Regions from separate parts of the Homo sapiens genome. Here regions 1 and 3 are each linked to region 2. The links are contacts of gene promoters, found by promoter capture Hi-C in human tissues and cell types (Jung and others, 2019). All regions are on one chromosome and are shown on one strand. The core of a region is centred on a gene start or on the middle of the fragment in contact, and the rest is flanking DNA. Distances in the headings are between cores, read along the strand shown.

Region 1 (4,689 bases), core at 1,979-4,478, 560 kb before region 2:
TTTTCTGGATGTCTCAATAACAAATAATTGCTATTCTAAGGCATTAATTTGAAATAATATCCTAAGGGAATAATTACCTTTGAATTCTGATGTGGGCTTCTCTCCTCTCTCACTGGGAAAGAGACTCTAGCAACTGACGAAGGTGAGGAAGATTTAATCACACATTCCTACTCCATTGAGAGCTGCTGCTTCTTGTGTTTTTTTTTTTTTTTCTCTGTGCTTACCGCTTATTTCTTCCACACACCTACTTCAGGCATAGCCAAGAGTAAAGGATAGTGGTGCTGGATGTGGGCCCCATTAGGGAAGATTTAGGCTTTATCCTTTGTTTGTGTTCTCCACTTGTGATTTGTATTAAATTCACTTTGGGACACATACCACAAGGTACAAGAGGGCTTTTTGATTGAAAAGTGAAAGGAGCCTATTAGAAATGTGAAATCATAATTTCTGGAGGTTTGGGGATTTAAAAAAATGTGGACAGCTGCTGGCTAAAGAACTGAGAAACGTTTAAGTCAGAAAAATATTCTAGGCAACGGAGCCAGAGAACCTAAATCAGTGGCAAATACTGCTAAGCCATCATTACATACTAAATAGTTATTAGTCATCTCTTCGTTTTAAACAGAAAGCTTAAGGGTCTGAAGTCCAAAGCTTAGACTCCATTCTTTCTAACAAATCAAAAATCCCATCCCTTCCAATAACAGAAATCTGCCAAGAGAACATTAAAGGTCACGCTAAACCCACAAATGCAAAGCAATGCAGATTTCAAAGACCTCGAGTGGAAAAATACAATTAAAAGTCACCAGCTCATTCTGAGCAGAAGAAAAGCCCGAGAGCTTGATTTAAGGTCAGGAACTCAAGGAGCATTAAAGAAGAGAAGCAGGAACCATAAGCCAAGTCATAAGCAAAGTGGCCTGGAAACCCTCAAGCCTGGTGTGAGCCTTCCGCTTTCGGCCCCCCTCGTGGGTGAGTGGGTCACAGCGGGGTTGGGATGCTGAGTTATCCCGTGGGGCCTATAATGGAAACTACATGTGAGGACCTGGCCTCCAGCGGATGGGCCTGGGCTGCTGGCTCTCACCCAGCTCCGCAGCGATTTTCCTGTATTACCCTAAACAAGTCATTCACCCTGCCCAACCCTATTTTTGCCTAATTACAAAATAATTTCTTTTAATGAGGCCAAGCTTACTAGTAAGCCTGTATTCCGTGGTCTGAGGGTTGCTAAGACGGCACCACTGGGACTTTAGGCCCAGCTCCATGATATTTACATCTCCCCACTCTACTTTGCACCAGTACCTGAAACACCACCATTCCTGTGTATATTTAATCTACAAGCATGCTTTGTGTGCCTGCTTTATGCCAGACACTGTACTAGGAATTAAGTATACAGGGGTGAGTAAAACAAGCATAGACCCCATGCAGAATATAGCTGGCAGAAACCCACTAAATAGGTAAATACATGTGTGTATATATATATATATATATATATATATATACACACACACACACATATATATAGATATATATACACATATATATATACACACACACAGACATGCACTGTAAGGTTAGTGAACAAAGCACTCTAAGAAATGAGAAGTCTGAGTCTTAATTAAGGTCATTAGAAAAGCCACCAAAAAGATAATCTTTAAGCAGAGATCTGGAAAGATCCAGGAACATAGTATTCTAAGCTGGAAACTAGCATGTGCTACCCTCTAGGCTAGATGGGAGCTTGATGGAGTCTAGAAATTGAAAAGGAGCTCATTGTAGCTGGGACACAGTACATGAGATGGAAAGAGACTGAGATCAGGTGAGAGCTGCTTGAGCAGAGATCACATGGGGCTTGGTAGGCCCCGAAAAGGAATCTGGATATTGATTCACCCCCAATATGAAGCCATTAAAGAATCTAAGCAACACTCTTCTCTCACTATTAAAATTACTCTGGCTTCAGTGAGGTAGATAGAATGGTGGAAGGCAAAAGAGGAAACAAGAAACACAGGTAAAATATTTTGCTCCCCTCCCTAGATTATAAGCTCCATGAAGGCAAAGAGTTGCATCAGTTTTATTCAAAATATCTCTGTGGTTCTTAAAACAAAGATGTCCCAAGAAATTAGCAAGTTCTGATGGTGAATAAAGGCAAAGCCTTACTTAGGATCAATAAGAAAAGTACTCTATGTGGCACTGAAAAGACATTCTATCAATAAATATTTACTGATGAAAAAAGAATGAGTAAAGATAACTGTACTCCAGAAGAAAATATTACAGTAGCTTGGATATACTGGTAAAGTGGAGAGTGCAGGATAAGTAGGCAGATTTGAGATCTATTTTGGAGGCAAATATAAAGGACTTACAGAGCAAATGGATGCAAAGACGGAGAGAGAAGGACAAATGAAGATCAATACCCTCATTTCTGGCTTGAGCAACAAGGTAATTGGCAAAGGCATTTCCTGGGAAAAGAAAACTTCCTGGGGGACAGGTGGGTTCGACTATTGGTCTATATCTAGAATCACAATGACTCAGCCTCTACAGACCTGTGTATGTCAGAATAAATGTGTACTGTTACTAAATTTGGGGGCAGTTTATCATGAAGCCTTACCATGGCCATAGCTGACTTCTGTGGTTTGGATAACTGATCATTCCAAATATGATGTTGAAATGTAATCCCCAGTGTAGCAGTGTTGGGAGGTGGGCCCAGTGGGAGATGTGTGGGCCACCGGGGCAAATTTCAAATGAATGGCTTGATGCCATCCTTACATTAATGAATGAATTATTGCTCTATTAGTTCCTACAATAGCTGGTTGTTAAAAAGAGCCTGGAATCTCCCTGTTTGCTCTCTTGCTTCCTCCCCCACAGTGTTATATCTGCACGCAAAGGCTCCCCTTCAACTTCTGCCATCAGTGCAAACAGAGGCCTCACCAGAAACAGATGCAGGTGCCATGCTTCTTGTACAGTCTGCAGAACCATAAGCCAAATAAACCTCCTTTTTCTTATAAATTACTCAGCCTCAGGCATTCCTTTAGAGCAACACTAAATGAAGTGAGACACTAACTGAAGCAGGAATCAAAAGATTCAAAAGAAAATCATAAGTCCAATATCCAAATGTCAAATTTAGGAGAACTGTGAAACACCCAAGTGAGGATATCAAGTAAGCAATTGGATACACAATTCCATAAATGTACATGTATTGAGGGCTCAACTAAAAATAAACTTCTGGAGTTACCAGCGCATAAAGATTATACTTAAAACCAAGAGTACCAGTGAAATCAACTAGGAAGAGGACACAGAAATATACAAAAGTGTCTCTATCCCAATCATGAAATTCTTCAACTTTTACAGGTTATGAGAAAGAAATTTTGAAGACAAAGAAGGATGAATCAGAAATGAGGCAAGAAAACAGAAAGACATGGGAGCATAGCATCCAAGAAAGGAGATTTTTAAAAAATACATAGCAAATACTCAACTGGGTGAAACACTGATTGAAGACTCTATTAGTTTTCTACTGCTATAACAAATTACCATGAACTTAGGGCCTTAAAACTACAAGAATGTATTTTACAGTTTTGGAGATCATAAGTCTGAAATAAGCCTCAATAAACTAAAGTATCAACAAGTATGTGTTTCTTCTGGAAACTTTAAGGGAATGTCAGTTTTCTAATTTTTCTCAGCTTCCAGAAACCACCCTCATTTCTTGCCTCATGGTCCCTTCTTAAATCTTCAAAGCCAACAGTGTAACAATTTGAAATCTCTCTTGGGCATTGACATGGTTTGGCTCTGTGTCCCCATCCAAATCTCATCTTGTAGCTCCCATAATTTCCATGTGTTATGGGAGGGAACCAGTGGGAGATAACTGAATCATGGGTGTGGAACTTTCCCATGATGTTCTCGCGATAGTGAATAAGTCTCATGAGATCTGATGGTTTTAAAAATGGGAGTTTCACTGCACAGGCTCTCTCTTCGCCTACTGCCATCCATGTAAGACATGACTTGCTCCTCCTTTCCTTTCACCATGATTGTGAGGCTTCCCCAGCCACATGAAACTGTAAGTCCATTAAACCTCTTTCTTTTGTAACTTGCCTAGTCTCAGGTATATCTACAGACTAATACAGGCATCAACACTGACTTTCCTACCTCTCTTTTTCACATGTAGGGATACTTGTGATTATACTGGGCCCACCAGGATACCCCAGGAAAATCTCCCTATCTCAAGGTCAGCAGATTAGCAATCTCAATTCTGTCTGCACCCTTAATTTCCACCTTGCCCCATGCAACATGACATATTCACAAGAGATTAGAAAGCAGCCATCTTTGGGAGACCATTATTCTGCCTACCACTGACACCAAATAAGATGAGCTTTGCTTTTGGGGAAAATGGATAGATGTTTTAGGGAAAAGTTAAGGCTCCTAGTGTGTTAGTTCCACAGAATATTAAGAGAAGAGCTCAGGCTAACTTTCGGCTCTATATAACTGTGTTTTCTTTTCGCAGATCCAACCAATTCAATTCTCCCACACCAGTTGGGTATTGTATCATCAAATTTAATTCTGACACTAACTACCCAAAGTTAGCACAGACCCCACAAGTTAAGGACTCGGTCTCACAAGACTGTCCCTACTTCAGAGCCAGGTGCAAGTGATGTCCCCAGGTTACCCACACTTCTGCTCAATCAACTACAAATTTGTGAGTGTCTGCAATGCACCCTC
Region 2 (4,850 bases), core at 1,317-3,816:
CGGTCCGGAGCCGGAGCGCGGGAATCACTCGCTGCCTCAGCCCAAGCGGGTTCACTGGGTGCCTGCGGCAGCTGCGCAGGTGGAGAGCGCCCAGCCTGGGAGGCAGTAGTACGGGTAATAGTAGGAGGGCTGCAGTGGCAGAAGCGAGGGTGGCCGCAGCACTTCGCCGGGCAGGTATTGTCTCTGGTCGTCGCGCACCAGCACCTTTACGGCCACCTTCTTGGCGGCGGGCGCCGAGGCCAGCAGGTCGGCTGCCATCTGCCGGCGCTTTGTCTTGTAGCGACGGTTCTGGAACCAGATTTTCACCTGCGTCTCGGTGAGCTTCAGCGACGCGGCCAGGTCTGCGCGCTCGGGCCCGGACAGGTAGCGCTGGTGGTTAAAGCGGCGCTCCAGCTCGAAGACCTGCGCGTGGGAGAAAGCGGCCCGCGAGCGCTTCTTGCGTGGCTTGGGCGCCGCCGGCTCCTCCTCCTCCTCCGCGACGCCTGCCGGCCCGCTGCCGCCCCCGCCGCCGGCCCCGCTGCACAGCGCGGACACGTGTGCACCTCTGGGGCCAACACCGTCGTCCTCGGTCCTTGGGCTGCGGTCGCCTGCGGACCCCGGTGGGAACAGAAACAAGAGACTGTCAGCGCCACAGACGAGGTGAGGCCGGGCCTCAACTGCAGGGGTCACGGGAGTGGGGCGGAAATACACTTTGATCCCACTCAAGCGGAGCGGAGGTCTGGGAGGCCCTGGGCCCGGGAGACCAGTCTTAGACTCTTGCCCCACTGGGTATCCCATCTAGGCCTCTTCTGGGGAGGGCGGCAGACTCAGCCGCTGTGTCAACGCTGTGTTGTCGAGACCAGCTCCCCACCCTCTCTGGGCCCCAGGCTCCCCTCAGTAACTTGGGGCACTCGACCCGAGCATCCGCGAAAGCCCTCCCGGCTCTCAGCGTTGAGCATTGGGATTCTAGACTGCATTTCCGTCTCTCTGCTTGGGTTCACGCGCCTCTCCACACTTAGTTCACACGCACACACGCGCGCGTCCTCGCAGCACACACTTGTCTGGTGCAGGTAAGGGAAGGTGGAGGCGGATCCTGGGGCCAAAGGTATTTAGAATCTTTCACCCTCAGCCGCCTGGGATTGCTGTGAGAGACATGGAAACAGGCTGAGCCGAGGCCTTAGATGAGAGGATGGACTGGAGAGTAAAGAGGGAGGGTTGCCCCTGCATCGAGTTTTTGGACCCTGATCCCACACCAGCTTCTCGGTCTCGTACCCGCCCTTCCGAAGAACTCCAGCAGAAAGGTCCAGCGGTCCCCTGTGCTTGAGGCCTACAGAAGCTTGTACCCAACTAGGGCAGGCACCCGGGTCTTCCAGACCACAGGACAGGACAGGCCACGGCTGAGGAGGCCTCTCTCCTGCCTCCAGGATGAACTAAAGACCCAATCCGGGATCTTCGGCCTAGGGCTGCTCTCCCAGACCTGGGGTCTGAGAAAGCCAAACCAGCCCTTTCCCCAAAGCTCTAGTTCTGCAGATTCTCAGCTCTGGCCCACTCGGAGGTGTTCTTCACCACCTATCCACCTACTGTGGGGCCCGGCCCTGGGACCTTGAACTGGCAGGTCTCTGGTCCAGAGCTAGGTCACTGGCTACCTGAGGTCTCTGAACCCCTCACTTTTCCGCTTCCCTGATTTTGGGGATTTGGGGACAGACACGGCAGAAAGCACTGGCGACGAACTCAAAAACTCCCGAACGCAAGGGGCAGCGGTTCTCCCAACCCAGTCTAATGCACATTGGCCCAGGATGTCTCAGGCCTCACCCCAGGACGTAGGGCTCTGAGGAGCTACTCCGGTCTCTCGCGGGCTCAGTTCCCGAAGTGATAGAGCAGCTCGCGCCAGAGCGCAGAACTTCGGGATTTGGCCAGCCTCCGAGCCCCAGGGCGCAGGGTGCTCAAGCCGACCACCCCACTCGGCGTGGTTGCCCTCCGCGTCCATCCCCTCAGCCCGGCCCCCATCCCCGCGAAGCCGCAGCAGACCTGAGACGCTGGCGGACATCTCGCTGTCGCTCCGGCCCGCGGCTTCCTCCTCTAGGTCTTTGGAAGCGGCCAGCTCACAGACCGGCTGGCCGAGGCTCAAGGATCCCCCCGCAAGGCCGGCCCCGCTGGCCCCCCGCGCGTCCGCGCAGCGCCGCCTGCTCTCGTTCTCCTCGCTGAGCGCGGAGTCCGAGTCCCAGCCTTCCGGGCTCTCCGCAGTCCGCCCCGCAGCTGTTCTGGTACCGGCAGGAGACGCCAGCAGAGAGTCCTCGGCGCCCCCCAACGCGCCCGCGTCCCTCTCCCCAAAGAGCCGCCAACAGCAGACAGCGGGAGCCGCGGCCACCGATGCCGCTGTGCCCCCGGGCGCCGGGCGCCCCTCTGGCGCGGCCAGCCCGCCGCGCTCCTCTTTCTTGTTGAGGATCGCCTGGATGGAGAAGGACGTCAAGGTGTTGGCGCCGCGCACAGCCATCTGCGCCGCGGGCAGGAGCGGCCGGCGGGGCGGGCAGCTGGGGCGCCGAGCAGCTCCGAGCGGGACAGAGAGCGCCGGCGGCCGCAGCGCGAGTGAGCTGGGTGTGCGAGGCCGCCGCCGCCCACTGCTGCGCGGCCCAGCAGCTCCCGCCCCACTCCGTCCCAGGATCAGCGCCGACCCTCGCCCCCACCTTAGAGGCCCACCCCGCCCGGAGACCCCCTCCCCCCGAATCCAGAGCCAGACGCTCTCCTTTCGCAGCTCAGCTGGATTATCTCATCGCTTCTCGCCCTTAGGGGCGGGCTGGGGTCTGCCCCCTCGGGGGACGTGAAGGAGGATTGGCGGGGGCCCCTCCGTGGCAGCAGTCCCCTCCCGAGCGCCGCCGGGGCGCACAGCCCGAGTCACTTTTTCTTTGCGCGTCTGTCCCTTCCTCGCCTGCAGGATTTCGCTCCTGGCCCGTCCTCCCCTTCCCTGCTGGGCAGGCTCTTCCGGAGCCCACCCCCGGCGGCGGCGGCGGTAGCCGCGGCCGCGGCCGCTGGATTCCGAGAGGCGCGGGGAACTTTTTTACCCCCTGCCCTGGTTTTATCTGTTTCTTTTCTCTTTCCTTCCCTTGCGTTCCACTGTACCACCCCCCTCCCGCCCGGGTGTCATTCCTCACTGCTGAGTGACAGCCTGAGGCCACACCCCTCCACTGGGCTGTCCCGGGCGCTCCCGGCCGTCCATTGGCTGGCTCCAGTTGGGCGACGTTGACTTTAACAGACAAAACTGGGCACGTTGCGCCGCTAAAGACAGGGTCTGACTTAACCCCTTCTCTCCTAAGCCTGGTCCTCGAAGCACCCTCCAGCAACAAGGAGGCTCATCCGACCCAAACCACGTTTCTTACCTCTGCAGATGTATCCACTTATTCCAGCGCTTTAACAGAACACTGATACTAAGTTGAGTCAAATCTGCGGAGAAAATCCAAGATAATGCAGTTCCATAAATCATGCTCGTAGTTTCTGTTCTCTAGGAAGGATTATAAACACGAAGAACAAAATGCATCCTTTTTTTTCTCCCTACAGTTTCGCCGCTTCTTCATTGCTAATGCTCTTTGCTGAAATGATCAGTTAATTAAGATCACTCTAGAAATATTTTTCTTTCCTCGTCGTCTTTGATTTGATTCGATTTTTATAGAGGAATTATAAAAAAATGGTATAGTTAGAACTAAAGTCAGGAGAAGAATTGAAAGGCATCTTTGGGAGAATTTCTGTAAATTTTATGGTCGTTTCCCTGGCAGACCAATATTGAATTTAATTGGAGTTTGTTAAGTTTTGCATCAGGAAGAAAAAAAAAACTTTCAATTTGTTTTTTTTAAATATCTCTTACTTGTGAGTTGAATAAAATTATAAATAGATATGTTTGTTTGCTTAGAAGTATACCTAGGAATTACCATAAAGTGATCCAGAAGTGACAACACTTTTTGCTCTTTAAAAAATAAGAAATGCATTGTATTATGTAATAGTAGGAACCAAGCTAAGAAACACAAATATTGTGGGTATATAAAAACATTTTAAAATGTGTTATTCCTTTTTTAATATAAAATTTGCTCAATTAACGTACTTCACTGTTTTCCATAAACTTTACCAGAGAGTTAACACCAAATACACAAACTTGAACCATTAAATACATTTAAAGGACTATGATTTTAATTTATTAAATTGCTAGGATTGGTAGTTTTGGTGTCATTAAAATAAATAACATCTCCCCTTGTTGCTTTCTTTTTGGTTGTTCTTTTTCTGCACCGCAGAAGGAAATACACTGACTATTCATAGTTCTCAGTCTCAGAATGAGGTTTTGCAGCATCTATACTTTTCAGCATTTCGGTTACATGATGCTTTCTTGCTTTGTGCAAACCTTGTAGGGTACCTGGGAAAAAACATCCACTTGAGGTCATTGCCCTTTACAGCTCTTTACAATTACATCAGTTTTGAAGGAACGCCATTTAAATTTGGTGTCAGTGCTCAGCAAGTGTAAGGACGCAGAGTGGAACAGCAGAATGCTTACAGTCTTTCAAAAACAGTGTGTCCTCTCCTCCCCCGCTGTATTATTTAAATTACCGTTCTCCTCACTTCGGGCAGGGATGTTGGGAATTATGTATAGTGAGGAGATTGACACTGGTTGCCTGGAAGGTAGGGGACGGGCAGGTATGGGTTTGGTGTCCCGTACAGCGATCGCTTTGTGGGTTTAGTACTTGGTGCTGACAAATAATGGAGTGAGATCCGAACATAAAGGCAGGCAGAGATGTTTTGGGGCTGAATCACCGAATACTAGAGTAGGTTTGGGGCTACGTAAAGACTTGCTTGAAAACAACTACCATTTAGTTGCGAATCCCTCCCCTCTT
Region 3 (4,690 bases), core at 1,926-4,425, 580 kb before region 2:
AAGGGGTAGATGTAAGTGTAAAACTTTAATCAGGAAAAAAATGTATTCCAGGAATTCAATTATTTGAAATCTTCATGATGAATGCCTATTTTCTGCCATCACTCTCCTTAGGAAGCTAAGTCCTAATCAGAATTTTACTTAGGTAAGTAGAAAGTCAGAATCATAGAAATGTAATAATCTTGGGAAAAGGTATCCTCTGAGATATCTTCTATATGTTTATAAAATGGGAATGACTTTGGGACTTTGGCAATTTAAGAATGACCTACACAACTTCTGGTTGACCAAGATTCCCTGTCTTCCAGGCAGTGCTAGAACAAATTGGCCAGGTCCTTATTTACATTCTCTTGGATGTACTAACTACACATATTCAGACCAACCTCAGATGGTATGTTTTCTCTCCTAGAGTTTATTAGTATCATTGCCTGTGATTCAACCTTATTGGGCAGGTGTAGCCTAGTCTTTGTTAGGTCCAGAGCTACCTCAAGATTGACTAACCTCTTGAGGCATTTCCACCCTGTTATTTTAGATTGGTTCTTTTAGGGCTAATTTCCTCCATCATGTGCTGACTTTGTAGTTGAGCCTTCAGAAGGTAATCTTGTGTTCCTTGTTCCCAAGTCCTTAGAAGACAACTTGCTATAGCCTTGAGGATGGAAAATAAGTGTAATAAACTTGGCACCTAGTTGATGTTCAATAAATGTTAATTCCCTCTTTTACCTTGGGGTATAGAAGACCTTTGCAATCTATTTATGAACAAGTATTTAATAAGGGTTGGCAGAGAGTAGTGAGTTAATAACAGCGGCTGCTATGTAAAACGTATTGGCAAAGTGAGTTGAGAACTTTTATGCATTTTTTGTAGAACACTAATAATGTGTATATAACTTGGTTTGATTGAGAGGAATGAAATGATATTGATTATAATGGCAGCATATCTATGCAAAAGGCTTTAGATTCCAAACTTATCTGGAATCTAAACTCTTGAGTTAGTACGAACCTATGGAAATAAAGACTTGTTAAAACTACTCACATCACCAATATAATATATTCCTATCATATATTTACCTTTACATTTGTAAAATCCTTGAAGTGAGAAACTGTGTTTATTCCTAGTATTCAGCAGTGCCTGCTACACAGTGATATTGAATAGGTGTTTCTGAAGTGTGTGTTGAATGCACAACTGATCTCTCCATTTAAAAAAATCACCTTGTCAATGGAACAATGATATCCACTTTATTACTATGTAAATATTCATCCCTCTTGCTGCATTTCTTTCTAGTGGCCATTATTTATCATCTTGCAGTTTGAATCTTTTGTAAAATAATGAGGAAATAAGATGTGCTTGGCATGGGTAGAGGTTTATCTTTTGGGTTGAGGTTTTTTAATTTGTTTTATTTGGGGAGATCTATTTGAGATTTTAATACTAAAATATTTTCTAATTTTTGAAACAACCCCAGCAAAGATAGTATACAAAACACAAAATAAGTGTAGACATTTGTCTAAGATAAAATTCTACTGAATTCAGGGAATCTCTGCTTCACTCATTGTGCATGCTGATGCTGCCTGAACTTCATCCATGTTCACTGAAGAGAAAGGTCAGGGTCTTCCCATGAGTGATGGAGCAGTGCTAAGCAGCCAGCACAGAAAGGAAAACAGAAAAACAAACATCAGGTTCCCGGAAGAGTGAAAGGAAAACAAGTGTGTATTGAATGTCTACTTTATGTCAGGGGTTGCCCGCAGGATGCTTTTCTGTGACTTGATTCAATCCTATAAGAAAGGGATTTATAATTTTCATTCTAGAGAAATATAAACTGCTTTAGTTAAAGTCACATAGCTACTAAGTGGCTGAGATTTTTATTTGGTCTGTCTGGCTCCAAACCTCTATCTTTTTCTACTAAACCAGTATTTCCTATGTGTTTCTGATTCAAAAAATAACCTGAAGCACTTAATAAAAATATACATTTTCAGGCCTCTGTCTAAGAGATCTCATCTGGATAAGTCTGGGTTAAGTTTGTGAAATTTAAACAATCACACCAGGTGGTTTTTGTGAGCAAGCGAGGTCTGCATCCCCCGACTCACCATTCTACCTTCCAGAGATATCCAAAGTGTCAAAATATACAAGAGCTTCAAAATAGCCCAAAGAGAGACAAAGCGCTAAAAGACTTTAAATATCCCCATCATCATCTCCCTTCCCCTTCATCCTGCCATCTCTCCATTTCATTTTGTGAACAGTAGACATATATTCACAGCATGTACCCTCAGCTTAAAGCACCCGTTTCAACAGATTTATCCCACCAAGCCTCTCCTATACAAAAATGATGAAATCTACTCTGGAAAGAGCTCAGTCTTGGTTAATTTCATTCTAGAAAGTCTGGGCAAAAACACACACAAAAAAAAAACAAAAAAAAATAGTCAAATGATTTTCCAGATTAATATGGTTTGAATGGATCTGAAAGTTCTCTCTCCTAGCTCCCCTCTCCATTTCTCTTTTGAGTTCTCACTGTCTGTTTCTGCATCTCTGTTTCTCTATAAGTTGTATGCATATTCTAAAATACCTGCGTCTTGCCACTAAACTTTGTATGAGTCATCACTTATGAAGATGAGGCTTCTAGGATTCCCTCTCTATAAATAGATTATTTTTAAGGAGTCAATTCTTAAGCCAGTATTTGTAAAACATTTTCCTTGAAGTCTAATGACAGAAAAAAGTTACTTGTGCCCTTGGAAGTTGTGGAAACACAACCATAGCATCCTACAAAAAGCATGCAATTCATTTAAAGTTTTTTTTTAAATCTTAAAATTTCATGTGAATTTGTTTTTTAAATTATTGACATAATTTAAAATTTGTCCATATTGATTTTAATATAAGAATTTTATTTTTCAATATCTATGAATTAAATTAAATATGTGTATATGTATGGACATCTATGGATGTGTGTGTGTGTGTGTGTGTGTGTGTGTGTGTGTAGCTTTTCTGAAGCTTTGCCATCCCTGTGTACAGATGAAAATACATAGCATTCAATCACTACCATGCATTAACACTTCACCTTAAATAAGTTTACTTGATTAGTTAACTTTCCCAAAATAATGTGACCCAAGATGGAAATTTATTAAATAGGAAATGGAAGAGAAAAGGTCCAAGCAATGGTATGGATTTGCACATTCCCTGAGGCTGATTATCAAATGAAAGATACCTTATTGTTGACTAGTCAGTTTGAGTACAAATATTACTTTGAGTCAGATCCTGCTTCCAAGTCTCTCTCAACTTCAGAGTGAATAAGCCTGATTTATTTTCCAAATTGCATGTCACTTCCACATTCACTGTCATATGTGAGCTTTACTTTAACTTTATAGAACTAACAAGGCAGAAATTGTTCTCTGAATCTGACAGAGAAAAAAGAAGGAACAGCAAGATTATAAGACTTACCTAGAATCACACAGATCATTCTAGTTTCCATTTCTCCATATTTCTTCTATGACCTATCCAGTAATATCTCAGACATTTTCAGAAATATTAGACATATTCAGTAAGTTATGGCTGAACTGAATTTATTATTCCAACATAAGATTGGGAGTGCAAAGCTTAGATTTGCAGCTCAATTCTTTCACTCTTCTTAATCTGGTGTCATTATAAAAACATAAGTTGCATTGCAAAAAATGCTAGTAATTTGATAAATAATATTTATGCACCTCCTTGCAAACCAGCTTTCAGAGTAAAAATATAAAATTGTGCACTGCCCAACTAAAAAAACAAAACAAAAATCCCTCCTGTGTTATCACTGAGAAATCAAGAGACTATTTTTTAAGTTCCAAAGGGCTCAACAGAAGTCAATATTTGTAAATATTAACCTTGTGAGCAAGCAAGGTTTGAATCTCTTGCTGCACCATTTTTGAGTAGTCCAATCTGATAAGAAGAATTCAAATTGGATTGTGATCTGTTTAAATGAAACTCTCCATTTATATCAAATGTGCTCTTTAGTCAGAATAGGAGAGAGGGTAATAAAAAAAGAGTACAGTTCCGCTGAAAGAGGCCTTGACTCTTTATCATCCATCAGGCAAGGTGAAAAGCTCACTGAAAACTCCAGTGAGATTACATTTAACATAAACTTCCTGAGCTGAATTCCATTATTGCTAAAATAACTAGAAGGGAATCATTTAAATATTTTCCTGATGCCAGTATGGGGTCTTATTCAGCTTCTGACTAACAGCATTTTGAGAACAGTTCATCCTCCCTCAAAGTGTGGAGAATTGCTTAAGTTTTATATATAGAAAAAAAAAAACATTTTAAAAGTGTTATTTTAATCTGCCTGCTGATGAAAGTTATCCTGATAGAAGTGAACCACTGCTGCTTCAGACATCCAGCAATAGACATCAGTACTTCCAAGGAAGTTCATGTCATTGTTGGACATAAAATTATGTTGGAAAGATACAAGCCACAGTGAAGTGAAAAACTGTGAGAGCATACTGCAACCCCCAGCCAGAGAAAAGAAATGGGTGAGAAATTTCTCAGAGGCTTCTTGCAGTCAGGTTTGATAGGGTCGTGGCAAAAACTGTTAACAGTTCAAACATCTGCTAGAAATCTCATTCATTTAAGAGAAAAGCATGCAATGAATTCTTAATTCATTCACTGATAATTTTCACTTTCAGAATAGAGAGGAAAGGTCAGAATATTTGGGCATTATTCTTACAAAGTAATTAC

Evidence for each region. Contacts are between HindIII fragments. The study calls those that stand out against the background at their distance.
Region 1: a fragment that was not itself captured here is called in contact with the fragment with the promoter of NKX3-2 in region 2 in 1 of the 25 tissues and cell types used here (lymphoblastoid cells).
Region 3: a contact is called between a fragment that was not itself captured here and the fragment with the promoter of NKX3-2 in region 2, in 2 of the 25 tissues and cell types used here (H1 embryonic stem cells and lymphoblastoid cells).

Annotation. Positions count from the first base shown.
Region 1 is chr4:12,979,074-12,983,762 of GRCh38, forward strand. No RefSeq gene overlaps it. Among named protein-coding and RNA genes, the nearest start is that of RAB28, 500 kb to the right of the region's middle. The HindIII fragment of the contact is 7,964 bases long and covers 1-4,689 here.
Region 2 is chr4:13,541,942-13,546,791 of GRCh38, forward strand. It overlaps NKX3-2 (NK3 homeobox 2), which reads right to left and starts at 2,567. Exons shown (of 2, transcript NM_001189.4): 1 at 2,008-2,567; 2 at 1-587. The coding sequence starts at 2,473. The coding sequence ends at 52. LINC01096 (long intergenic non-protein coding RNA 1096) reads right to left here. Exons shown (of 1, transcript NR_015450.1): 1 at 4,135-4,850. RefSeq lists a silencer at 363-492 and an enhancer at 4,693-4,850. The HindIII fragment of the contact is 14,287 bases long and covers 1-4,850 here.
Region 3 is chr4:12,960,258-12,964,947 of GRCh38, forward strand. It overlaps LOC105374493 (a long non-coding RNA gene), which reads right to left. Exons shown (of 3, transcript XR_007058047.1): 1 at 3,419-4,690. Among named protein-coding and RNA genes, the nearest start is that of RAB28, 520 kb to the right of the region's middle. The HindIII fragment of the contact is 4,471 bases long and covers 941-4,690 here.